Regions from separate parts of the Homo sapiens genome. Here all the other regions are linked to region 7. The links are contacts of gene promoters, found by promoter capture Hi-C in human tissues and cell types (Jung and others, 2019). All regions are on one chromosome and are shown on one strand. Each heading gives the region's core, a stretch centred on a gene start or on the middle of the fragment in contact. The rest is flanking DNA. Distances are from core to core; before and after follow the strand shown. Region 1 overlaps CEP85 (centrosomal protein 85). Region 2 overlaps UBXN11 (UBX domain protein 11). Region 3 overlaps CEP85 (centrosomal protein 85). Region 4 holds the start of LOC105376888 (a long non-coding RNA gene). Region 5 has its middle 63 kb from the start of ARID1A. Region 6 overlaps CEP85 (centrosomal protein 85). Region 7 holds the start of HMGN2 (high mobility group nucleosomal binding domain 2).

The links. Contacts are between HindIII fragments. The study calls those that stand out against the background at their distance.
Region 1: a contact is called between a fragment that was not itself captured here and the fragment with the promoter of HMGN2 in region 7, in 1 of the 25 tissues and cell types used here (H1 embryonic stem cells).
Region 2: a fragment that was not itself captured here is called in contact with the fragment with the promoter of HMGN2 in region 7 in 2 of the 25 tissues and cell types used here (adrenal gland and ovary).
Region 3: a contact is called between a fragment that was not itself captured here and the fragment with the promoter of HMGN2 in region 7, in 8 of the 25 tissues and cell types used here (IMR-90 fibroblasts, adrenal gland, dorsolateral prefrontal cortex and 5 more).
Region 4: a contact is called between a fragment that was not itself captured here and the fragment with the promoter of HMGN2 in region 7, in 5 of the 25 tissues and cell types used here (dorsolateral prefrontal cortex, hippocampus, liver and 2 more).
Region 5: a contact is called between a fragment that was not itself captured here and the fragment with the promoter of HMGN2 in region 7, in 1 of the 25 tissues and cell types used here (H1 embryonic stem cells).
Region 6: a contact is called between a fragment that was not itself captured here and the fragment with the promoter of HMGN2 in region 7, in 3 of the 25 tissues and cell types used here (adrenal gland, heart right ventricle and neural progenitor cells).

What each region holds. Positions count from the first base shown.
Region 1 is chr1:26,268,820-26,272,757 of GRCh38, reverse strand. CEP85 (centrosomal protein 85) reads right to left here. Exons shown (of 14, transcript NM_001319944.2): 9 at 3,144-3,298; 10 at 1,651-1,744; 11 at 687-737. Among named protein-coding and RNA genes, the nearest start is that of SH3BGRL3, 9.3 kb to the left of the region's middle. The HindIII fragment of the contact is 3,763 bases long and covers 1-3,623 here.
Region 2 is chr1:26,286,424-26,290,154 of GRCh38, reverse strand. All of the region lies in intron 8 of UBXN11 (UBX domain protein 11), which reads left to right. Among named protein-coding and RNA genes, the nearest start is that of SH3BGRL3, 8.2 kb to the right of the region's middle. RefSeq lists enhancers at 1-402, 279-418, 429-708. The HindIII fragment of the contact is 5,264 bases long and covers 1-3,731 here.
Region 3 is chr1:26,236,253-26,240,050 of GRCh38, reverse strand. It overlaps CEP85 (centrosomal protein 85), which reads right to left. Exons shown (of 14, transcript NM_001319944.2): 2 at 213-289. The coding sequence starts at 267. Among named protein-coding and RNA genes, the nearest start is that of CEP85, 4.0 kb to the right of the region's middle. The HindIII fragment of the contact is 3,847 bases long and covers 463-3,798 here.
Region 4 is chr1:26,686,465-26,690,093 of GRCh38, reverse strand. It overlaps LOC105376888 (a long non-coding RNA gene), which reads right to left and starts at 912. Exons shown (of 3, transcript XR_001737950.2): 1 at 857-912. The HindIII fragment of the contact is 5,506 bases long and covers 1-3,629 here.
Region 5 is chr1:26,631,238-26,634,939 of GRCh38, reverse strand. No RefSeq gene overlaps it. Among named protein-coding and RNA genes, the nearest start is that of ARID1A, 63 kb to the left of the region's middle. The HindIII fragment of the contact is 4,824 bases long and covers 1-3,702 here.
Region 6 is chr1:26,251,995-26,255,510 of GRCh38, reverse strand. CEP85 (centrosomal protein 85) reads right to left here. Exons shown (of 14, transcript NM_001319944.2): 4 at 1-340. Among named protein-coding and RNA genes, the nearest start is that of CEP85, 20 kb to the right of the region's middle. The HindIII fragment of the contact is 5,989 bases long and covers 1-3,516 here.
Region 7 is chr1:26,470,621-26,474,273 of GRCh38, reverse strand. It overlaps HMGN2 (high mobility group nucleosomal binding domain 2), which reads right to left and starts at 1,834. Exons shown (of 6, transcript NM_005517.4): 1 at 1,647-1,834; 2 at 747-791; 3 at 542-571; 4 at 139-189. The coding sequence starts at 1,661. It overlaps DHDDS (dehydrodolichyl diphosphate synthase subunit), which reads right to left. Exons shown (of 9, transcript NM_205861.3): 9 at 2,968-3,653. RefSeq lists silencers at 1,110-1,279, 1,320-1,609, 1,870-2,139, 2,024-2,439 and enhancers at 1,809-2,518, 2,519-3,227. The HindIII fragment of the contact is 14,054 bases long and covers 1-3,653 here.

The sequences.
Region 1 (3,938 bases), core at 493-2,992, 200 kb after region 7:
ACTCGGGAGGCTGAGGCAGGAGAATTGCTTGAACCTGGGAGGCAGAGGTTACAGTGAGCCGAGATTGCGCCATTGCACTCCAGCCTGGGCGACAAGAGCGAGACTCTGTCTCCAAAAAAAAAAAAAAAAAAAAAAAAAAATGCTGTAATAGATGCCCACCACCTACATAAAGAATAAAAGCTAACTTAGTTGATAGATAAGGCCCTTCCATAGCCTGGAATGCCCAGGTCTCCATTTACCATCTTAAAGTGGATACGTCAGCAGTATCAAACTGCTTGCAGCACCACATTCAAACTATGCTGTTTCATGTCTCCATGTTCCCACTCATGCTGTTCCTCCTATCTGGAATCCAACACATCCTATCCAGCTCCTCTTGTTTGCCTGGCTAACTCCTCATCCTTGTAGGTTCAGGATCTCCAGAAACCTCTCTTTTACCTCCCTTCCTCCCACTGACTCTCCTGCACTCCCCCAGGATACTGTGGGGACTGCTCTCACAGTACTGTGCTGAAACTCCCTACTATATTTGTGTCCTCTCAGCAAGGCTCAAAAGCACTGACTGGGTCTCATTCTTTTTGTATCCCTAACACTGAGCAACCTGCATGGCAGAGAACAAAATAAATATTGGCTAAATTCTAGAGATTCCATCATTAAGTTCTGCCCACCATGTCCCAAGGATTCCTGCTCACCTGTACTTGTGAGCGCAACTGATCCATCTTCTGCTGCTGCTTCTCCACAATCTGAAAGGCAAAGTTATCAAGGAAGGCTGCGAGCACAAGGCTGACGGTGAGGACAGAGGGCAAGGGGGCTGCACTAGGACATGTGGTCTGGCTATTAGACCATTAAGAGTAAGACCAGGATAAAGATTAGTGAACTCTACCTATAGGAATATAAACCAGACTCCTAATCCTGGCTAACTAGCTTCACAGTTGTGCTCCAATCACAAAGGTTTATACAGGAATGTAGTGTGAACACATAACCACTACTGGGGGAAAGGGAACTCTCACCCTAATAACTGCAGGCCAGTGGAATCAATTTTATAAACAGCCAGTGCAAACTCTTGTTCTTTGGTACAAGGACATGGCTAAAAATTCAGTCTAATGAAGCTTGCCATTTCTAGCACTATGATGGTTGTTGTTATTTACAGCTCTGGTCGTACTGATTATCCAAGAAGGGACCCTAAATAGGCCTGGTTTCTTTGAATCATTTATGGGTCTTCTTTTTTTTTTACTAACCTGCAGTCAGTTTCACCAGCCGGCCCCTGGCTCTCTCGTCTTTGCTGAATTAAGAAACCAGGGCACCTCACTGGTTAGAACTCTGTTCAATTCAAGGGTTTCTGTATGGGCCTGAGCCATGAATAAAGTGCACCAAACTTTACTGCACCATTTTGGGTCATCTAATCTAGATATTCAGAGGCATATCACCCCTCCTCTTACTTTTGCCTATATTCTAAATGAGTGAAGTTTGCCTGTTACAAGGATGACTATCTAAATACAAATTACTATGCAGGGTGACTTCTCCGAAAAGAAAGAAAAGCTCTTGGTAACAAATCCTAGATAGCCCAAAGCCAAGAATTCACGTATCCCTCCTAATACACAATCTTCTCTTTCCTCCCAGCCTACCCTCCGTTACAGCCTGGACACCCTCAGTCACCTTTTGGAGCGAATCGTATCGCTTCTGCCAGGACTCCATTTCCACTTCTGGACCTTCTCCACTGGTCTCCTCCACAGACTGTTTATCTTGCAGGCTGAAAGACAGTGGCCTCTTCAAGAACTCTGAAGTTAGACACAAGTGGCTTTGATTCTTGGTTCTGCTACTTATTGCACATTTTGAGGCAAGACACTTAGTCCAAGCAGTAGCTGGGGATAATACTTGGGTCTGCTGTAATATATGGGGTGCCACACAAAAGCTGCTCAGTGTATGTTAATTCTCTTCCCTAAGGGCCAGAATCTATACAATGTGACACCAATTCTCTACCTGCCCAAGGCTCTTGTGTATTTTGTTTTGATATTTAAAAAATACATATTTATCACATGTATTTAGATTGTAAGTCATACATGTACATTGTAGAAAGTTTGGAAAATACAAAAGCTGTTTTCTTGGCACACACAGTCTGGGGCAAAGCCAACTTTGTCCTCTAACCCCACTTCTGACTCTAACCAATGGTTTCCTCCAGTGGGTCCCTACAATTACTTATAGCAAAGCCCATCTGCTGAGATAAACAACAGGGACACTGTGGTTAAATATGGGATGAGAAATCCAATCTATCCCATTAGAAACTGGATTTGGTCCAAGAGGCTGTTGAAACACACCATTATTTTCAGAAACTGCTATTAATATGGAGAAGGCTCCCAAGACATCCTGAGAGTACATTATGGCATCTTGTTTTGTTCTCAGAACCTGTCATGGCAATGGAGAACAATCCCTAGGGCTGAGGAGAAAGGCTCCTGGTAGCCTTTAGCCTACACAGCTCGAACTGTGGATAACTCTCAGTTCTTATCACCAGTACCCACTTTTGAAAGTATACAGACACCTCATTTCCCAGTTTACAAAGTGCTTTCATTTATTCAACACATACATACTAAGAATTATGTGCCAGGCACTGGGTTAGATCCTTACAAAGGCTATGAAGATAAGCCCCCACTGCATCCATACTCCATGCCAAAGATATAAAAGCCGCTTCCTGGCCGGGCGCGGTGGCTCACACCTGTAATCCCAGCACTTTGGGAGGCCAAGGAGGGTGGATCACGAGGTCAGGAGATCGAGACCACGGTGAAACCCCGTCTCTACTAAAAATACAAAAAAGATTAGCCAGGCGCAGTGGCGGGCGCCTGTAGTCCCAGCTACTCAGGAGGCTGAGGCAGGAGAATGGTGTGAACCTGGGAGGCGGAGCTTGCAGTGAGCCAAGATTGCACCACTGCACTCCAGCCTGGGCGACAGAGCAAGACTCCGTCTCAAAAAAAAAAAAAAAAAAAAAAGCCGCTTCCCATAAGCAGCTTTCCTATTATTCACAGTCCAAAGAAAACAAAGCTCAGATAAGTAAAATGATTTTCCCAAATCACCCAAAGTCACACAGGTAAGTGAGCAGGATGGCTATGACAAAAAACTTAACTCTCCACTCCTCTCAGTCCCACAGGGTTATTTACCTATGTCCAGCGGAGGAGAATTCTGCTTCTCTCTGCCTCAGGCTTTCCAGTTGAATCTCCTTCTCTCTGCAGATTGCCTGGGTCTCCTCCAGCAAACTCTCCAGCTCAGTCACTTTCTCCTGCAGCTCTGTGCTCTTCAACTCAGAATCCTTAAGCTGAGAGACAGGATCCCATGTTTAGGTCAAATAAGCCAAGTGTTATAAATGCAAAATGCTTGTTCCTCGGTGTCACAAAGAAATAGCACTCAAACCTATATTTAATTTCCTCAGCAAGGCAATTTTTACTTTCTGCAGAAAGGGTGCTCCTCGCAGATGGAACAATGGTGAGAACACAACTGGACAGGGGAGGGGAAGGAGTTCTTATTTCTGACGCAGGTAGTCCCTACTGCTATGTCGTTCCCCTATTGGCTAGGGTTGAACCACACAGTCTAAGCTAATTCTGATTGGCTATTTTAAAGGGAACAGGTTTATGAGCCAGAGTGGTGGGGTGAGTAGTTTGGTGGGAAGGACAGTTAGGAACAGGTAATTAAAGGTGACTTAGGTCAGAGCAGGTGACCAGGGTGACTCAGGTCAAAGCAGGTGACCGGGATGAGTCAGGACGGAGTAGGTGACCGGGGGAACAGATGTGAACTACTGATTAAAACTGGTGGAAAAGGTTGTTTACTGAAACTAGAAGCAAGAGGGCGAAGAGAACCAGGAAGTTAAACTTTAAAATAGTGAATCAAAGAGTAAGAGACCTGAACTTACTGATTCTTTGAAGAGAAACTTGGGGTTCACTTTAACATAAGGAAGACTC
Region 2 (3,731 bases), core at 78-2,577, 180 kb after region 7:
CAGGCTTGGATGATCAGAGCACATTGGAACAGTCATCTGCACATGATGAGGTGGGGACAGGGTGGTGCGTAGCTCAATGGCAGGGGCCAGAGAGAGCTGCAGGTGGGACCCGGCAGGCCTGAGTTCAGATCCTGCCAGTCCACAGGCTGGTTGAGTGTTCTGGCGGGGACCAGACCTGCAGGGCCTCCTTTCCTGCACTGGCTCCTCTGAAGAGCAGAGTGACTGCAGTAAAGTCCCCAGAGCGGGGCCTGGCTTGCAGGTGTGTGGTAATAGTGGTTCCACTTCCTGTTGCAGCCGTCTTTGCCTGAGGGTCAAGGGCAGGCACATGGAGGGCGGCACCGCGTGAGCTGCCGGGGTGCCCTGGGCACTTGTGCAGTGAGGGGCTGCCACCTCTCCACTGAGCATGGTAGGGTCTGGCCCTCTTCTGGGCTCCACAGCCCCCACAGTGATACTTACACATGCCATTGTCGCCATTTGCCGCCCCGTCTTCTTCACTTGAGTCTGAGCCTGAGGATGGCAGGACCCTGGGCGTGGGCATCGCCATGATGGGCAGGGCCTAGCAGAGCACGGGTGCTCAGACATTTCTGGAAAGCAGGATCCAACCCTGCTTTTAGTGGCCCAGCCACTCTGGGCCAGGCCCAGGGCTCAATGCTCCTGAGCTCAAGGGGTGCCCAGCATGGCTGGAAGGCAAACAAGCAAGCAGAAAGCAGCGGCCTGTGACGAGGGCCAAGGGAGTAGGTGCAAGGGCTCCAGGCATGCAGCCTCAAGGCAGGTTGGGGGTGGCTCCTAGCAAGGCTTCTTGGAGGAGGTAGGGGTGAGTGGGCACAGCTTGAGCCCAGCGATGAGTAGGCGGTGCTAGGGACAACAACAGCCACCATCTGCCAAACGCTTCCTCCAAGCCTCACAGCAGCCCTGTGAAGTGTGGAAACTTTTATCGTCCTCATTGTACAGAAGAGGAAGCTGAGGCCCATAGAGGCCCAGGGTTACAGAGCTCGGAAGTGCCCTCCAGTGCCCACCAGAGCGCAAGGCGAGGGGCATGTTGAGGGTTGGCTGGGTGCTAAGTAAGGGTCTTGGGAGTTGGGACAAAGAGCTTGGACTTGAGCTCCCTTCTCATTTTAATACACTCGTGGGCTCTCAAAGTTGGATGAGGCCTCAGAGGTGATCTCCCAGCATTGCCACTCTCCCTGGAAAAGGGACCCCAGTAAGCAGCCTCTCAAGAACCAATATTGAGAGGCAGCCTATGTGATCACTGAGCACTGAGGCTGAGTCACTTGGGCCCTGCAAGCTGCATGATCTGGGGCGTGACAGCTCATAAGGCCCAATTTCCTTATCTGTAAAACAGAAATGGTGATGCCTGCCTCCTGGCGCTTGGCACAGGGCTGTCATTTACAGACAGGTTCACCAGCTGGATCTTGCAGGCAGTACAGGGTTCTTACCATCTCCCCATTGCACAGAAAGGATGGCTGTGGCTCAAAGAGGAAGTGCCTTTCCATTTGAGTTCTGCTGCTAGCTCAGGGCAGACCTAGGACTTGCCCTCTGACCTTACTCCTGCTGTGTGACTCCCCAGCTGCACCTCTCTCCATCCACGGGTCAGGCCTCAGTTGAACCCTGGTGGGGTGGTGGGGGCTCACTGGCTTCACAAGGCCCTGCTGTGGTAGCTCTTCCCACCTCATTCTCTCAGTGCTGGTTTGCCCAGAGCTGTGGTTCCTTCTTCCTGGCCCCTGGTCTCATCTCCACTCTATCATATCCAGCATCTGCCTGGGCCACCTGCTTTTACTTCTTTAAGCCAGGGCCATTTTCTTGGCAAGCTTCTCTCTTCCCCTTCGTCGTTTCTTGGCATCCTCCCTGGTCTCACCCCATCCCATGTCAACCACCCATGTTCATCAGCCTGAAAAACCCCCGGCCCTGGGAGGCGGCAGGAGCATTGAATTAGGAGTTGGTGTATTTGGTGCTCTTCCTGGCTCTGTCTGGTCTGATCAGGCCATGTCATCTGACCTTTCTGGGCCTCACTTTCCCCATCTATAAAGAAGACAGAGCCCTGGTAACACAGCGAGACCCCATCTCTACAATTTTTTTTTAAATTAATTAGCAGGGTGTGGTGATGCCTGCCTGTGGTCCAAGCTACTTGGGAGGCTGAGGTGGGAGGATAAGTTGAACCCGGGAGGTCACGGTTGCAGTATCATGACTGTGCCGCTATACTCCAGCTTGGGTGACAGAGGGAGACCCTTTCTCGGAAAAAAAAAAAAAAGGGTTGAGGCAGGCATTGTATGAGATGATCTATTCTGCTATTGTTTTTAGGTTTGCCTATTTGTCCTTAAGGTAGTTGTTAAAAGAAAAGTGTCTTGGTATCATTCTGTTAGGCGAGTTTTTCCTGGGAATCTCAGGGACTATGTGGGGAGCCCCCGGAGGGGCTGGGGGCAGGTATAGCCCCTTCAATGGTAGGAAATATAGGGGAGAGGAGAAGGCCAGCTGGGGCCTACCATTTCACCTGCTGCAAAAGCAACAGGAAACACATCTGCACCTCCCTGGTACAGCCACTGCACCACTGAGAGGAAAGGAATTAGGTCCCCAGAGCCCTGACCCACATCCTGCCGCAGCCTGCTTGTCCTGTTGAAAAACAGCCTCTCTGAGGCCCCAAAAGTTATTGGTGTGTTGTAGGGCACACCCAAACAGATGACTTACTTGGGGGCCAGGTCCCATCAAAGATGACAGAACAGGCCCCTGGTCTGTACCCAGCCAGCATCTACCTGCCCTCCACCTTTCTGCTCTGTTGTCTGTCACGGCTGTCCCCACCGCTCCGTATTCTCCCCTGAAGCCAGAACACAGCTGTATGCGCCACACGTGTTTCAGAAGAGGAGGCCAGAGCTTTGTCAGCTTCTCAAAGGGGTCTGTGACCCAGAAATAGTTGCACAACCTAAGGTCTGTCCCATATCTGTTCTGGCCAGCAGCTGTCCCTACATCCTCCCTGAGAGCCATCTGTCCCTCTTCTGACCTCCCTCTCCTGATGGTGCAGATGGGTGGGGGAAACAGACTTGAGAGTCAGCCCCGGCTCCCTTCCCAGTTCCTCCTCTCACCAAGTGGCTTGGGACGAGTCATTTTTCATCTCTGTGGGCCTGTTTCCTCATGTGTAAAATGGAACTAAATAACCCCTGCCTCAGCCTGGCGTGGTGGCTCACACCTGTAATCCCAGCACTTTGGGATGCCAAGGCGGGCGGATCACCTGAGGTCAGGAGTTCGAGACCAGCCTGACCAATATGATGAAACCCCATCTCTACTAAAAATACAAAAATTAGCCGGGTGTGGTGGCTCATGCCTGTAATCCCAGCTACTCAGGAGGCTGAGATAGGAGAATCGCTTGAACCCAGGAGGCAAGGTTGCGGTGATCCAAGATTGTACCATTGCACTCCAGCCTGGACAACAAGAGTGAAACTCCATCTCAAATAAATAAAAATAATTACCCCTGCCTTAAGCCTCAGGGTTGGCGTAAGGACCATGTGTGCAAGGTGGAGTTGGGCACAGTAGCAAACATGGACAGGGTGCGTGTTCCAAGCTGGCTCTTAACATGGTTACTTCTTGGAGCCTTACAGCCATCCTAGGAGGCAGATACTACTGTCATCCATTCTAGAAGAGAATGCTGCAGCACAAGCATTAAATGACCTAAGGTCACACAGATAGAAGGGAGGAACTGGGATTTGAACCCAGAAGGCCTCGATCCAGAGCTGGGAGCTCTG
Region 3 (3,798 bases), core at 1,137-3,636, 230 kb after region 7:
ACCACGTGGTCCTGTTGAAAGCCACATAGCACAAGAGATAAATACTTGTTCCCTCAGAGACCTGTTTTTATATTCAATGAAGCCCCATGTTATTTTTATTCTTTTAGCACCAGCATTTCAGTGAATGCTTGTTTGTTCAATATTTACCTTAAGGAATATGAAAAAACAGAACAAAGGTCAGAATTTAACCCAGAAAACTTCTGACTACTCACTCGGTGAAGTGACGTGAGAGATCCCCTCAGTTGGATATTTCTCCTGCATGGCCATCAATCACAGTTATTTAAGCCAACTGTAGAATGAAGGAATAACCAGTCAGTTCTCTGAAGTATCTTTAATTCCCCGCAACTCAGTTCCCATTCAACTGAAACTGTCAAAACCATATAGAATATTCAAGTATTTGGCCAGGCACAGTGGCTCACACCTGTAATCCCAGCACTTTGGGAGGCCAAGGCGGGCAGATCAACTGAGGTCAGGAGTTCGAGACCAGCCTGACCAACATGGGGAAACCCCATTTCTACTAAAAACACAAAAATTGGCCGGGCATGGTGGCACACATCTGTAGTCCCAGCTACTTGGGAGGCTGAGGCACAAGGATTGCTTGAACCCGGGAGGCAGAGGTTTCAGTGAGCCAAGATCACACCACTGCACTCCAGCCTGGGCAACTGAGCAAGACTCCATCTCAAAAAAAATAAAAAAGAATATTCCAGTATTCTAAATGTTATATTCCTAAGGATATTTAGGAGTAAATATGTTTTTACATGTTTTACTTCTAAGGATATTTTTAAGACAAAGTAAATCCCAATACTCCACTCTACTTCTCTTCCCAAATCCAGTATAGAAAACCTAGAACCAGAGATTACCAATACAGATTCCATACGGTCCTAGAACCCTTCTGATTTTTATAAAATTTAAAAATATTACTTTTAATTAACAAACTTTACCATGAATCTTCTTAGCCATGGGGACCTGATGACAGGACGAGGTGGATAAAGAACTAAAGAACTAAACCAACAGTGAAGTATTACAGCATCAATTATGATTAACACAAAACAAATTCCTCAATTCTTCCAGTAATTAAAGTCAGTCATACGATGTAAAAAGATGGGAAAGAATTCTTGCTCATAAGTAGAACTCCAATCCTGAGCTAGGAACGTGAAGTTCTCGTCCCATGTTCTCACTCCTTAAAATATTTATATTTACAGTACACTAGGGGTAGGTGCTGAGAATTCAGCAGAAGTGGATTTGAAGTCTAAACAAATACACTTGAACCCACTAAACATTAAGTTATCAATTTATTAGCTGTGTAACCTTGGGCAAATTTCTTAGTATCTCTGTTCCTCATTTTCTTCATATAAAAATGAGGATAACAACACAACCTAATTCATGTTAATTCACTTATAATTAACTTACAACAGTTCCTGACACATACTAAGTGCTGTTATTACTTGGCAATTTACATCAACAAAAGTAGCACTGTACAGCCCATGGAAGATCAAGGAGTATCAACTCAGAAACTCTAAATTTATAAAAGCCCCAAAAGAGTTTGGGACAATTCGGCCGGGCTCAGTGGCTCACGCCTGTAATCCCAGCACTTTGGGAGGCCGAGGCAGGCGGATCACCTGAGGTCAGGAGTTCGAGACCAGCCAACATGGTGAAACCCCGTCTCTACTAAAAATACAAAAATTAGCCAGGCATGGTGGCAGGCGCCTGTAATCCCAGCTACTTGGGAGGCTGAGGCAGGAGAATCGCTTGGACCATGGAGGCGGAGGCTGCAGTGAGCCAAGATCGCGCCATTGCACTCCAGCCTGGGCGACAGAGCAAGACTCCGTCTCAAAAAAAAAAAAAAAAGAGTTTGGGACAATTCACAGAACATAATTCTATCACTCTGGAGAAAAAAGACTATATGGTACTATTTCTCTAATGTACTTTAGTGACCTCTATAGTATTCTCTTGTTACTAAGAGAATACTATAGAGGTCACTAAAGTACATAACAACCCAAACCCTTATTAATTCACTGCATCTACAATAGAAAGGGTATCATCCTCCACAATTCCAGTTCTTCACATACTGGGTGAGGGAAGCTTTGTTCAGTAATAAAAGCTTTAGTTTATGGCAAGTATGATTCAGTGAGTTAAATGATGACATAGAATGATTAGATTACCTCCTTACTAGTGATTTCCTTTCTTGTCAATATCAAAATCCTTTTCTTCACTCCTTTCTTTAAAGGATAACAAAATGGTAGGCGCACTGGATTCTAAGGTGTTTCTAAATTCAGACAAGTTGAAAATACGGTGACAGAAGGAGAACTCCGAGTTACCCTATGACTCAGCAATTCCACACTGAAGTATACACCCAAGAGAAATGAAAACACAGGTTTACACAAAAGCTTCAATAAGAATGTTCGTAGCAGCATTATTTACAATAGCCAAAAAGTGGAAACAACACAAACGTCCATGAGCTAATGAATGGATACATAAAATGTGGTATATCCAAAAAACAGAGTATTATTCAGCAATAAAAGGAAGTACTGATACATGTGACAACATGGATGAACACTGAAGACATGCAAAGTCAAAGAAGCCAAACAAAAGGCTTGATCCTATTTATATGAAATGTCAGAATAGGCAAATCCATAGAGACACAGATTAGTGATTGCAAAGGACTGAGAGGAGGGAGGGTAGGAGAATAGGAAGGGACTGCTAATGGATACCGGGTTTCTTTTCAGGGTGATCAAAATGTTCTGAGATTAGATAGTGGTGACTGACTGCACAACCTTGCCAATATATTAAAAACCTCTGAATTGCACACACATAAAATTAAATTTTATGTTATGTGATATAAGCCAAAAAAAAAATTCTAAGACATCCCCAACCACCTGAATGGATCCCTCCCCTTGGCCAATGGCATTCCAAAGTTAAGCTGAAAAACCTGTTAAGGCCATGATGGTGGTAGTGGTGGTGGAGTCCTACACCCCTCATTATACCCTCCTCCCTTCTGGAATTTAGGAAAAGCATTAACATTAACACAGATGTCTGTAAGAAACATTTATAATCTATTCTCTCTAAAGCCTACTATTTGGAGGCTTCATCTGTACAATAAAATGTTGATCCCCAGGATACCTTAACCCAGACATTCCTTTCTATTGATAACAACTTTCAACCAACTGCCAATCAGAAAATTTTGAAATCTACCTATGACCTGGAAGCCCCCACCCACTAAGAGTTGTCTTACCCTTCCAGATCAATGTAAATCTTACATGTATTTGACTGATGTCTCATGTCTACCTAAAATGTTTAAAACCAGGGCACACGTTATCAGGATCACCTGAGGGCTGTGTCAGGGGCCACTGGTCACCCATATTTGGCTCAGAATAAATCCCTTCAAATATTTCAGAGTCTGACCCTCATTGACAACAAATATCTCAAAAAAGAAAAACAGAAAGAAAGAAACCCCGTAAGGAGTAAAACAATACAAAATAAATCATTCTTGACTTAAGAATTAGATGAGCTACTGGTGGAAATTTTTGGGACAACTGAAGGAGACAGAAATTTCCTGGGATAAAAATGAGAGAAGTGAATGTACAAGAAGTAACACACCAGTTATAAAGCTTAGAAAGGGAGTGAATGGAGGCAGACAGAGGGGAAAAAAAAAAAAAGCACCCAACAGGATTGGTTTCCATCTTCAAAGCCCTTTAAACTACAGAAACAGTCACTCATTCAACAAATTTAACATGCATTCTGCACTTACTACCTATCAAACACTGTGCTCAACACTTTTTAAGTATCATGTCTCATGTT
Region 4 (3,629 bases), core at 189-2,688, 220 kb before region 7:
CATCAAGCCTATCCAACAAGCCATTTAAAAACAATACGGGAGGCCGAGGCTGGCAGATCACTTGAGGTCAGGAGTTCGAGACCAGCCTGGCCAACATAGTGAAACACCGTCTCTACTAAAAGCACAAAAATTAGCTGCGCATGGTGGCAGGCACCTATAATCCCAGCTACTCAGGAGGCTGAGGCAGGAGAAAATCGCTTGAACTCAGGAGGCAGAGGTTGCAGTGAGCCGAGATTGTGCCACTGCACTCCAGCCTGGGCAACAGAATGAGACTCCGTCTCCAAAAAAAAAAAAAAAAAAAAAAGCACGGAAACACACACACACACCTCTATCACAATGTGTATTCATTAATATAACTCATCCGCAAACTACACTCAAGAGCACACAGTGTTGTGCAACATTAGGCACTATTTTTGCCCCAAACACCAAAACCAGGATGGAGATTACACATTTTTACTAGGCCCTTTCGACTTCAGAACAAAGCCCAAGAGCTCATTGAAGTATTTTTCTCCTAATCACTCACAGCTACTTAAAAATATGGATACTCTAATTAGCTGGGCGTGGTGGCGGCCGCCTGTAGTCCTAGCTACTCAGGAGGCTGAGGCTGGAGAATGGCGTGAACCCGGGAGGCAGAGCTTGCAGTGAGCCGAGATCACGCCGCTGCACTCGAGCCTGGGTGACAGAGCGAGACTCCGTCTCAAAAAATTAAATAAATAAATAAATAAATAAAATATGGATACTCTGTCTAACAAAAACCCGAGTTTGTGGCTAACGTGTTTGCCCCTTTAGCCCAGATAAAGTTGGAAGTCCAAAGGGTTTAGAAAAGAGGGATTCTAGTTGACTCCACCACACCTACCTTCCAGTTCTTTATGAAGTAGTAGCCAGTGTTTCCAAGGTGGAATCAAGGAGAGTGGAAGTACCACACAACCTTCGGAAAGAAAATATTCTCTAGGAAAAAGCTTCAAGGTGAAGGAGGTTGCAACCTGATTGGCTACTGAGGGTTTTTAGGAGTCCATCATTATTAGTACAATTTGTCACTGATTGTAGAGAGGGTCGACAGAAACCATTTTATAATCTCAACCAAGTAATGTAGACCAAGACCGCAGTCTCTACCCTAAATACTCACCTTTCATGATGAAGCAACTTTACCCTATGCACTTGTTCATCCTCAGCAATCCTTGAGTTGCACATGCTCTTCTGACCCACTTTCCACCAAAATCGGTCTTCTCCTAAGACTTAGAAATTTTTGTGAGCCTGTTATTCTTTCAACTAGAAATTAACAGTATGATGATTGCTAATAATAACCATTCCAAAGCTGTATTTTAAAACTTCATTAAGTACCTTGTTCCTTGATTTAACTACCTCCTGGAATACTTATTAATGCTATAGAAATTACATTTAGCGCCGGGCACTGTGGCTTACACCTGTAATCTCAGCACTTCGGGAGGCCAAGGCGGGCGGATCACCTGAGGTCAGGAGTTTGAGACCAGCTCAGTCAACATGGTGAAGCCCTGTCTACTAAAAATGGAAAAATTAGCTGGGCGTGGTGGCGGGTGCCTGTAATCCCAGCTGCTTGGGAGGCTGAGGCAGGAGAATTGCTTGAACCCAGGAGGCAGAGGTTGCAGTGAGCTGAGATAGTGCCACTGCACCCGAGGGCAAGACTCTGTCTTGGGTGGGGGGTCGGGGGGGGGGAATTACATTTAGCTACTACTTGGCAGTAGAATTTTATTTTACTTTATTTTATTTATTTTTTGAGACAGGGTCTCACTCTGTTGCCCAGGCTGGAGTTCAGTGGTGTGACCATGGCTTACTGCAGCCTTGACCTCCCTGGACTCAGGTGGTTTTCCTGCTTCAGCCTCCCTAATAGCTGGGACTACAGGCATGTGCCACCACATCCAGGTAATTTTTAAAAATTTTTTCGTAGAGACAGGGTTCGCCATATTGCCCAGGCTGGTCTGAATTCCTGGGCTCAAATGATCCTCCCACCTTGGCCTCCCAAAGTGCTGGGATTACAGGCATGAGCCACTGCACCCAACTGGCAGTAGAAATTTCTGAAATTCCACAATAAAATTCATAGGAGAGCCCTGCAATAGCAGTAGTGCTAGGACTAAATGCAGTGTCAAACAGGAGCAGTCATGCTGTGCCATAACTGTTCACTGACATCACCTTTTGACTGCCTGTGAGTGATTCATATTCTCAGTTATCTGCTAATGTGAAGATTAATTAATTTAGTAGGTTCTTCACCATTGCACACCGTGCTATAGGACCAAGTCTCCCCCTCACCTCCACCACACACATGCACACACATACACACAAACCTCTGGCATCATATTTTTGTGTGTGATGCCAAAATATGAGAAATATTTAACAGGAACAACAGGAGAAACATTTTCTTTTTTTCTGTTTTTTGAAATGGAGTTTCACTCTTGTTGCCCAGGCTGGAGTGCAATGGCCCGATCTTGGATCACGACAACCTCCACTTCCCAGGTTCAAGCGATTCTCCTGCCTCAGCCTCCCAAGTAGCTGGGATTACAGGCATGCGCCACCCCGCCAGGCTAATTTTTGTATTTTTAGTAGAGACGGGGGTTTCTCCATGTTGGTCAGGCTGGTCTCGAACTCCCAACCTCAGGTAATCCACCCGCCTTGGCCTCCCAAAGTGCTGGGATTACAGGCATGAGCCACCATGCCCGACCCAGGAGAAACATTTTCTAAACAACTAAAAATATGCAGGGGACCTGGATAATAAGGGAGGTTTGTTTTCTATTGTGTTTAAGGTTTTTACTTCTGTGTTTTTAACCCCAGAAAACACACACTCGCTCTCTCTCTAAATATATATATATTTTTATATATATATATATGTATGTATACTTTTTTTTTTAGGGATCAGAGACGCTGGCCAGGATTAAGGTTATACCAAACATATTCCACACTGCCATTTTCCAAACTAAATGAAATAGCAAAAACGTGGAGAAGGAATTTACAGGAATGGAGTACTACAAAGACAGATGAAAACTCTACAGAGGTGTTCTTCTTGGAAGTGAGTGGGAGTAGGAGATGAGGAAAGGAAAGTTAAAGGCTTATGCCCTACTCAGTATTCAAAGCAAGGAGCATATAGTTTGAGAGCTAGCTCTACTTTTGAGACAAATGTCTAGACTTTCATTCTAAGTCAGGTTTCCAAATGGCTGTATCCATTCATAAACTGTAATAACCAGGATTTCAAATAGACTCACAAAATCCAGTTATAAGGACTATGTCTGCTTAGAAGCATCAGAGCAGAGGGTCCCCTCCAGTAGAATAGCCATCTCTTCACTATGATATTTTGAAACCAGTTTGCCATTTTCCACTTTTTGGTTTGGGATGTCAATCCTTTCATTCAGTTTACTATAAATGGGAGATCCTCTTATAATTACTCTACTATGATATACAACATTGAGTATACACTACTGTTGTACCTCCCATAAAGTACATTATAAGCTGATATCTACTTAAAAGGAAAAACATACCTCCAAAATAGTACAAGCCTGTTGGATTCAATATTTGTTTATAAGTTCCTAGCACTCAGATCAAGATCCCTCATTTTGTCAGGTACAGTGGCTACTCGGGAGGCTGAGGTGGGAGTATTTCCTGGG
Region 5 (3,702 bases), core at 1,043-3,542, 160 kb before region 7:
TAATAATAATAATAATAATAATTTTTCGGCTGGGCGCAGTGGCTCACACCTGTAATACCAGCACTTTGGGAGGCTGAGGCGGGCGAATCACAAGGTTAAGAGTTCGAGACAAGCCTAGCCAACATGGTGAAACCTCGCCTCTACTAAAAATACAAAAAATTAGCTGGGCGTAGTGACAGGCGCCTGTAATCCCAGCTACTTGGGAGACTGAGGCAGGAGAATCGCTTGAACCCAGGAGGCAGAGATTGCAGTAAGCTGAGATTGTGCCACTGGACTCCAGCCTGGGCGACAGAGTGAGACTCTGTCTCAAAAAATACAAAAAACAAAAAACAAAAAAAAACTACACATAATTTTTCTCTCTCCAGTCCTCATTTTTATTAAAAACAAATCATGATAGGACTAATTTGTTTGCAAAATAAGCTTTAGTCTTATTATACTTGGCCTGATTATTTGCATAAAGCACAGCAAGAATAATAATTTCCCATATAGGCTCATTTGTAAATTGGCTTTGATGGAACTTTGTTCCATGAGAAATCTCAGGTAAGAATTTTTTTTTTTTTTTTTTTGAGACAGAGTTTCGCTCTTGTTGCCCAGGCTGGAGTGCAATGGTGCAATCTCGGCTCACCTAAACCTCCACCTCCCGGGTTCAAGTGATTCTCCTGTCTCAGCCTTTCAAGTAGCTGGGATTACAGGCATGTGCCACCATGCCTGGCTAATTTTTTTGTATTTTTAGTAGAAACGGGGTTTCACCGTGTTAGCCAGGATGGTCTCGATCTCCCGACCTCAGATGATCCACCTGCCTCAGCCTCCCAAAGTGCTGGGATTACAGGCATGAGCCACCATGCCTGGCAAGATAAGACTTTTTAAAGCCTTAAGCTCGGCCATGGGTTTGTGCCATCAAATACCTATATGAGTAAGGTAAATTCCTCTCCTCTTGAGGTCCAAAGATAACATGGGGTTCCTAGGCTTGTCAGAACGTGACATTCTTTACTTATCATCATAGGTCAGGAACCCTGTAACCCTGCACAGGGCCTGCGTAGACAAGGTATGAGAACATTTTTTTCCCCAAGTGTTTTTTTTTTTGGAGACAGAGTCTTGCTCTGTCACCCAGGCTGCAGTGCAGTGGCATGATCCCGGCTCACTGCAACCTCCGTGGCCCAGGTTCAAGCAAATCTCCTGCCTTAGCCTCCTTAGTAGCTGGGATTACAGGCATGCGCCACCATGCCTGCCTAATTTTTGTATTTTTAGTAGAGGTGGAATTTCACAATGTTGGCCAGCCTGGTCTTGAACTCCTGACTTCAGGTGATCCACTCACCTCAGCCTCCCAAAGTGTTGGGATTACAGGCGTGAGCCACCGTGCCTAGCCCCCAAGGGTTTTTTGTTTGTTTGTTTTTTGAGACGGAGTCTCACTCTGTCGCCCAGGCTGGAGTGCAGTGGCGCGATCTCGGCTCACTGCAAGCTCCGCCTCCTGGGTTCACGCCATTCTCCTGCCTCAGCCTCCTGAGTAGCTGGGACTACAGGCACCTGCCACCACGCCTGGCTAATTTTTTGTATTTTTAGTAGAGACGGGGTTTCACCATGTTGGCCAAGATGGTCTTGATTTCCTGACCTCGTGATCTGCCCACGTCGGCCTCCCAAAGTGCTGGGATTACAGGCATGAGCCACCGCGCCCAGCTCCCCCAAGGGGATTTTATTAGCTCTATAAGTCAACTTCAATTCCTTAAAACAGTCTGTTTGTACCTGAAAGCATGCCATTTCAGTCAAAGCCTTGATAAATTAATGAGTATCTCCAACTGTGTTCTGTTACAAAAGACAGATTTTTTTTTTTTTTTTTTTTTGAGATAGTCTTGCTCTGTCACCCAGGCTGGAGTGCAGTGGCACGATCTCAGCTCACTGCAACTTCTGCCTCCCGGGTTCAAGTGATTCTTCTGCCTCAGCCTCCAGAGTAGCTGGGATTACAGGCACCTGCCACCACACCCAGCTAATTTTTGTATTTTTAGTAGAGATGGGGTTTCACCATGTTTGCCAGGCTGGTCTTGAACTCCTGACCTCAGGTGATCCACCTGCCTCGGCCTCCCAAAGTGCTGGGATTACAGGCATGAGCCACCACGCCCAGCCAAAAGACAGATTCTTATTGCACTTATGCAAATAACTGTATTGCCATAAGTAAGAATACTTACAAACAGTTTCCAAAGTTTGGAGAAACCAGGGAGAAAGGAAGATGCTCCAAATTTTGTTTGTAGGAGTATACTTTAAAAACAATTCAGTTGACTGAGAATAAAAGAACTTTTTTTCTTCAGAAAAATAAGATCCAAGAAGTGAAAAAAGCATAAAAACCTTTTAATATATGCATAGTTTGGATATCTACTTTTAATTAAGCTGACTTAACCAAATCTTTTATTATCAGACTCTAGCTAGGCCAAACAGCCTATATTTCTGGCTTTTGAACTTTACCAAAGGTAACCTCCCAGGTGTTCAGAGAAGAAAAAATTCAAGATGGGAAGTCAGAAGTTGTACATAGAGGGGAAGGAAATCAACAAGTGGCAAAGGTCACACAAATATCAACCAGAAAGTATTTATTCTCTAGGCTGAAAATTTAACCCAGGGTGCCATTGTGAAAAGACAAAACCTTAGCTACTAAGCTACAGCATTAGGCAGTTTCCATTGCTCTTCCCAGACGGAGCCTAGAGCAGTCAATTTTGAGCTTGCAAAGGCTTTTAACTACTCAAGATAATTTTTAGAGCTAACTATGACATGAACTCCAAAATTCCTGTCCTCTGGATGGCGGAAACCAAGAGAAAGTACCACCACGTGGTTACAAGGTCAAGCTCCCAAGGACATAAAACAAGACAAGAGGGAAATTTTATCCAGTTTTTGTTTCAGGGACCTCCAACAAAGTTTGTAACTGACCAGTTTGCCAGGCTGGCTTGAACAGCAGGCTTATGAGGCCCTAAGTCCATGTTCTATCCTAAGGTACTTCTTTTTATGACAGAACAATACAGAAAGATAAATTCATAGCACAAAGCACACCACATTTGCTATAGCTTAAGACTAGCCTCATGAATCTTTAATTAATCAAAAATTTGCAGAGGAGACAATGATTTTTACTGTTCCCACAACCAGTTTGCACAGAGGAGAGGCCAGAAGTCTGACTGGTAAGAAACTCTTACCCTTTTGCCAGCATGCCAGGTTTCTGGGGTTCCCTTTTCCTTTTTTTTTTTCTCTTTTGTGAGATGGAGTCTCACTCTGTCACCCAGGCTGGAGTGCAGTGGCACGGTCTTGGCTCACTGCAACCTCCACCTCCTGGGTTCAAGCGATTCTCCTGCCTCGGCCTCCCAGATAGCTGGGATTACAGGTGCATACCACTATGCCCAGCTAATTTTTGTACTTTTGTACATGTTGGCCAGGCTGGTCTTGAACTCCTGACTTCAACCTGAACCACCACTCCCAGCCGGGTTCCCTTTTCCTGAGTGGCCCTAGCAACCCTGCTTGCTGCACCATAGCCCTGGGGGCCTAGCCACAATACAAAGGAAAATCATCGCTGGGCACAGTGGCTCACGCCTATAATCCCAGCACTTTGGGAGGCTGAGGCGGGCGGATCATGAGGTCAGGAGTTCCAGGCCAGCCTGGCCAACTTAGTGAAACCTGGTCTCTACTAAAAATACAAAAATTAGCCAGGCATGGTGGCGCATGCCTGTAGTC
Region 6 (3,516 bases), core at 190-2,689, 220 kb after region 7:
CTAGGAATATCAAACTTCCTCGCCTCTTCTTGTCTTTCATGGCCCACTGCTGGAAACCAGGACTGCTCAATTCCATTTTCTCCAGTAGCACCAGAGAAATACATGAGATCTCTAGATAGGCCTGGAGAATGTTTCATTGCACCGAGGTCTCCATTTCTTGTCATTCCCACACTTTCAGCCAACCCTGACAAAGGGAGTTTAGAGGAAGAGGGTCCAACAGGTGTAGAATTTGGCTTGGCAGGAGAGGTCCCTAAAGTAGAAGGCATCACATGGGCTGTTGGAATGGTTACGTGGCTTTTGATGGGCTGGAAAGGAGGACTGCCACTTGAGCTGCAAAAATCTGGGGAGAGAATAGTCTTCCATAAGTAAAAATTGAAGTAGCAAGCTTTCTTGAGTTTGAATGCTATGCCAGAAGCTCTCGGCCTGTCCTGAGACCAAGCAGAGAGAGCACCATCATCAAAAGTATCAGGCAGAAAGAAACGGCAACCAAACTGGGAGATGTATGTTCCAGGATCTCAAATGCCATTCACAAGGTAAACTAACAAAAGGCAATAATGACTTCACTTTTAACTTAGTCCTTTGTACTGGAATAAAAAAAATCTTGTCAGTCAACAGACAAAGCTGAAAAACTTTTAAAAAGTTTTTTAAAAAATTTAAACTTTAAAACAAATTACTTACTTAAGGAAAATGAGTTAGGTCCTACTCTTCTGGAAGCTGGACAACTCTCAGCTATAATCAAATCTAATAAAAATATCCTTTCCAAGAGTCACCAGAATCTTCTGCGACCTCCAAAAGCTCCCCCAGGAAGGTGAGCAACGAGTCCAAACTATCTGAAGAATGAAGCGAACTAGACAGTCTTGCTCAGTATGCAGGACAGGGAGTATGGCATCTGAGGCAGGATTCTGTTCTCTCTCCCATACCCCAAACCTGACTGCCTGGATATGTGAAGTTATTCTTAGTAACTCTCAGGTTTCACTCTAGCACAGTGAGCACTCTCAATTGGGTACACACTGAAATCCTCTATTTTATATTTTGCCTTTCACTTGCCCCCTTGTGTGTACCCAACTGTGTTTTTTTTTTTTTAACTTTTCCTTCAGACTGAATTTGTGTTTCCTTTGGCTCCTGCCTGGTCTTGGGAGACAACCCTTGATTAGCCCTACTATACAAGGTTCACATTTCTACCTATTTCCAACTTTCAAGTACTACTCTGAGGGGGACTACTGCAAGCAAACAATAAGGGAGGAATGTGAGGTAACATACTTATTGCTTTCAGCAGGCAGAAAACTGAATAAGGAAATAAGGAATACCAATTTCTTCTCTTTTCAACTATATTCAGTACTCGTTCCCAAATCAAGCATATCTACCACGGAGAAGAGCGACTACCAACTTGTTTCTTTTTCTCCCCAGCAACCAACACAGAGAACACTCAGATAACAACAACAAATACTATAATTGTTCCCAGAATTATGTAAGTATAGATCAGCTACGACCTTCTCATTAAACAACTTTTTTTTTTGAAATGGGGTCTCACTCTGTCACCCAGGCTGGAGCACAGTGGCGTGATCACAGTTCACTGCAGCCTCGACCTCCCCAGGCTCAGGTGATCTTCCCACCTCAGTTTTTGTATTTTTAGGAGAGATGGGGTTTCGCCATGTTGCCCAGACTGGTCTCGAACTCATGGGCTCAAGTGATCCACCTGCCTCAGCCTCCCAAAGTGCTAGGATTACAGGTGTGAGCCACCATGCCCGGCCTTAAGCAACTCTTTAAAAATATGGGCAAGCCACCTCACACCTGTCAGAATGGCTATGATGAAAAAGATGAGGCCGGGCGCAGTGGCTCATGCCTGTAATCCCCAGCACTTTGGGAGGCTGAGGAGGGGGGATCATGAGGTCAGGAGATCGAAACCATCCTGGCTAACACGGTGAAACCCTGTCTCTACTAAAAATACAAAATATTAGCCAGGTATGGTGGCACGCGCCTGTAGTCCCAGCTATTCGGGAGGCTGAGGCAGGAGGATCGCTTGAACCCAGGAGGTGGAGGTTGCAATGAGCCAGGATCGCACTACTGCACTCCAGCCTGGGCGACAGAGTGAGACTCCATCTCAAAAAAAAAAAAAAAAAGATGAAAGATAACAAGTTTGGAGAGGATGCAGAGAAAAGGGAACTCTAGTACACAGTTGGGGGGAATGTAACACAGCCACTGTGGAAAACAATGGAGTATGTAGCTCCTCAAAAAACTAAAAATAGTTACCATATGATCCAGCAATCCACTTCTGGGTATATATCCAAACGATATGAAATATGTATGTCCAAGAGATATCTACAATCCCATGTTTACTGAGTAATTATTCACAATAGCCAAGTTATAGAATCAACAGACGAACAGATAAGGAAAATGCAGTATATTACACAACGGAATACCAGCCTTATAAAAGATGTCAATTGTGTCACTTGCAACAACATGGATGAAACTGGAGGACACTAAGAGAAATAAGCCAGGCACAAAATGACAAATACTGCACGTTCTTACTTATATGTGGAAGCTAAAAAAAACCTCGACACATAGAAACAGAGAGAATAATTGTGGTTACCAGAAGCTGGGAGCAGGGGGAATCGAGAGATGCTGATCAAAGGGTAAAACATTTCGGTTAGACAGGAGGAATAAATACTTTAAAAAAAGACGTGCAAGCCTTATATTACATGCATAGTATCTAATTTGCTATACTGAAGATGATCTTGGGGATATATAAAAGGCCACACTAAAAAAACACACACACACGTAACAAAACAAAAACCTGAATAAGTTCTGATAACATGCATTAGTCTCTCAGGACCAAGAAAGAAATTTCTCAGTTAAAGGACCCAGTTTCTGATGTCTCACAACTTAAATATAGGACTAGTACACAAGGTTAAGGCAGACTGCTAGTGATAAAGACTTCAAAGACTAGTAAGCAATACAATTTTTTGTTTTATTTTTTGGAGCCGGAATTTCACTCTTGTTGCCCAGGCTGGAGTGCAATGGCGCGATCTTGGCTCACCACAACCTCCTCCTCCTGGGTTCAAGCGATTCTCCTGCCTCAGCCTCCCAAGTAGCTGGGATTAAAGGCATGCTCCACCACGCCCGGCTAATTTTGTATTTTTAGTAGAGACAGGGCTTCTCCATGCTGGTCAGGCTGGTCTTGAACTCCCAACCTCAGGTGATCCGCCCGCCTCGGCCTCCCAAAGTGCTGGGATTACAGGTGTGAGCCACTGCCCCCGGCCCAATTTTTTCTTTTTTGAGATGGGGTCTCACTCACTCTGTTGTCCAGGCTGGAGTGCAGTGGCACGATCTTGGCTCACCGCAACCTCTGCCTCCTGGGTTCAAGCGACTCTTCTGCCTCAGCCTCTCGAGTAGCTGGGATTACAGGAGCCCGCCACCATGCCTGGCTAATTTTTGTATTTTTAGTAGACGGGGTTTCACCATGTTGGCCAGGCTGGTCTTGAATTCCTAACCTCAAGTGATTCACCTGTCTCGGCC
Region 7 (3,653 bases), core at 585-3,084:
ATGAATGACACGGACGAGGTAAGCTATCCACACAGTTTATAACCTCCATTAATGGAGGCACCATTATGCTAATTAAGTTAAGGCACTAAGGACAGTCCTCATTCTGTGAAAATGATCAGTTCCAATGTTAGCACTTACCTTTGCAGGGGCCTTTTTAGGCTTGGGCTCTGGCTTTGGAGGAGCAGGTTTCTTTTTTTGGCAGGAAGAGAGGAAAAAGTGAACATCAGTACAATGGACTGAAGAAAACCACCCACAACCAACCAAAAGTACCAAGGGTAGAGAAGTTTCTCCTCCTCCTCAAAAGTTTTTGTGGTTGGCTTTCTTCTAGAATGTTGGATTTCCAGAAGCCCACTCAAATGTCCCACTTTGGCTACAGGCATCAGAATTTCAGAACCAGCAAAACCCAAAGGGGCAAGAGTCCCAAGTAGAGGCAATGATTCAAAACCAGGCACTAACCATAATTCATGGAAGCAAAGGGAATTGTTTTTTGATGTTTTTTAGTTTCAGGGACAAGCACGAAAATTCAAAAGCATACACTTACAGCAGACAACCTCGCGGATCTTCTCTGTGGCTATTAAAGACAACGAGAAAGTTAGAAATAGGACAGGTAAGTCGCTTTGAAAGTTTGGTATCAATTTGCTCTAGATTATAGGAGTGTAAATTCAGGACACAGGTTACGGTTAATCACCGAGTCCAGTGGCCTCTGCTAGTCCAAGGCTTTGACCCTTGAAGAGAGAATGACTTACTTCGTCCTTCACCTTTGCTTTATCTCCCTTAGCATCCCCTTCAGCCTATAAGAAACAAGAACAAAAAACTGCAGATTTTGAGGTGGTTCTTAATTACTTCCCAAACTTTAGAGTGCTAAAAATGAAAATTAAAGCAGTCGTCCACACAACTTTTCTAGGACATAAATGAGTGAGCCCGACGTTCGTATAAGAACGAAGCGCGCGCAGGAGCTCCGGCTCGCCGACCCCGAGAAGCGAGGGCTGGACCGGAGCGCAGCCGGGGAGGGCAGCGGAGCCCGCACCACCGCGACAGGCAGGAGCAACAGCTGCAGATGGCGCAAACAAACCCCCTCCGGAGGCGGAGCCCAGCGCCGTTGCTATGGCAGCCGTCGAGGGCGGGAGAGGGAGGCGCGCGCAGCCCGGGGAACTCGTGGGCGGCGACAGCGCGCGTCTCGTGCGCGGGGAACGTGGGCGAGGGGGCGGGGCCATACCGCACAAGCCCCGCCCCTCACGGCGGCGGTTTTTTGGCGGCAGCGCTTTCCCCCGCCCGCCAACCCCGAGCGCCGCCTTCCCGCCCTTTCGGGTTTGAATTGCCCGCCCGCAGGGAGGGGAGGGAAGGGGCCCTCGCGATGGGGGAGGGGGCACGGGGCGGGGGCGGCGAGCCCGAGGAGAGCGGGATAAACAGCCGCCAACATGGCTCCTCCCGCCGCGGCCGCCGCTCCTCCAATATGGCCTCTGGCGCCCGCGGGCAGCCGAGCCGCTCAGGGTTAGCCCCGAGCTGCCCGACACCGTCTCCAGCCCCCGCGCGGGGAGGCTGCGCTGGCTCCTGCTCGGCGCCGATTCTCGCTCCCTGCACCAGGGAGGCGGCGGCGGCGGTGGCGGCAGTGGTGGCCCGGCGCCTGGGGCCCTCGCGCCACGTACCTTTCTCTTGGGCATGGTGGCGGCGGCGACGGCAGCGGGACGTAGGTGCTGGACGCGGGATGCAGCGGCGCGCGGGCTTTGGTCGGTCCGGGGGTCGTTCTCGCCTCTTCTTCACACTGCTCGGGCTCCGGGGGGTTTATAAAGTTTTTATAGCGCTGGGAGCCCCGGACCGGTTAGAACCGGATTTCACCTCCCGCCGCCGTTCATTGGCCCAGCTGGGGTCACGTGGGCGGGGTTTAAACTCACCTCCTCTGGAGGGAGTGAGGAGGGGGGTGTGTGGGGGGGGTAGTGCGCGGAGACGGCGGCGCGCCGAGGGGGTGGGGGCGCAGTCGGGGTGGCGCGCGTCGAAGGCAGTAAATGAGGAGGGGTGCGCGAGTCGGCGGGCTCCGGGTTCCGGCTCCCGCCAAGAGCTGTCTTTTGCAAACTAGCAAGTTCCTTCCACCTTATGCAACCCAGCAACCCACTTCTCCAAGCCGTGCGACACTCACGGCGCATCTCAGCGGCTTTCCTTCCTGCTCCCGCTGGGGGCCCCAGAAGAGGGGTTTGCGAGGCCTGGCTGCACTGCCCTGCTCCTCTGGAAGCAGGAGGAAGCGCGCGGCTGGAGGCACAGGCTGCAGTTCCCAGAGCCCAGGCTGACGCCAAAGTGGGAAAAAGGCGGGGAAACCAGCTTGGCGCAGCCGGACGTGCATCCTTCCGAGCTGCCACTTCGGAGAAGCCTTTCGTGCACCTCACCTGAAAGACGGTCCCACTCGAGGTGGGCTAGGGGTTTCAGGGGGAGACTTTCCATGCAGAGGTGCCTTTTGGGTGCCGTGGGTCAGGTAGGAGCTGTCCTTTCAGCACCCGTTGCGCAGCCGCCTCCCCAAATGCTATCGAAGCCCCCACCCCCAACTCCTCTCGGGTGGCTCCCTTAAGGTCCCTGTATTCCCAAACCTCCAGACCCCGCCACAGTATGGTGGAGAGCGGCCGTCGAGGTCTACCAGCACTCACTTCCCCCTACACTCTACCCCTCTCGGAGACATTTTGCCCAGCTGCCCAACCCGACGCGGCCACCAAGCCTGGGCACTGCAGCCGCAGCTGGCGAAATCCCTCCTTCCACACTGTCAAGCTGGCTGCCTTTCACTTGCGCGAGGAAAGGAGGGTGGAGGAAAGCGCCCGGGGATTAGGAAACAAGTAGAGGAACAGGTGGTGTGATGGCAAAAGGGCTCTTCCGGTGCCCCCTAGTCCAAAGCCAGGGTCTTGGAGCTAGCCAAGTGCACCTGAGGGAGGGTAGGCAATTGCAGCAGCAAAAGAAGGTGTTCTTCCGTTGCAGTTAGCAAACAAGTTTTACATCTAAGAATCTTTAAAAATTCTATTTGAGACCCAGCACACAAGAATACGATAGATGTCCTCAAATGGGGGCTTGGCTCACAGGTGGAAGGACACTAAATTGGTCCCATCTGATTTCTTGAGGCAAGGGTTGAACCTGGCTTGCACAAATCACACCTGTCCAAAGCAACCACGAGTTCTACTATTTTGCAGCCCTTGCTGCTGGGCGACGACGACGACCTCTCTGCCTCTTCTTTCCACCACTACATCGCCTCCTGGGGCAGCTTCTCCCTACTCCACCCTGTGTACCTTTCCCAGAATACAGAACCTCAGGCCAAAGAGAGATGCCAGCCCCATTAATCACCTCTACTGTACCCCAATCATATTACGGAAAGTCAGACCCAGGAGACAGGACTCAACAGCCACGCTCATAGGGCAGATTCCGTTTGCTGCCTCCAGCCCCTCATTCCCGCCTTAATTGTAGGGCTCTGCATTATAGCCGCATAATTCATGCCTCCCTAATTATGGCTGTCAACAGCCCCATTGTAAAGCTGTAAAATGTACAGCACCTGCTCTCCAGGAACCCTGTGCCAGGGATTGGTAGAGGGGAGTGCCAGGTGTGGATGGGGGCTTTGCCAAAGGGTTCACTGATTGGCTTCTCAATCGCCGTGTCTGGCATTTATGCTTGATTCTGGGAGCATG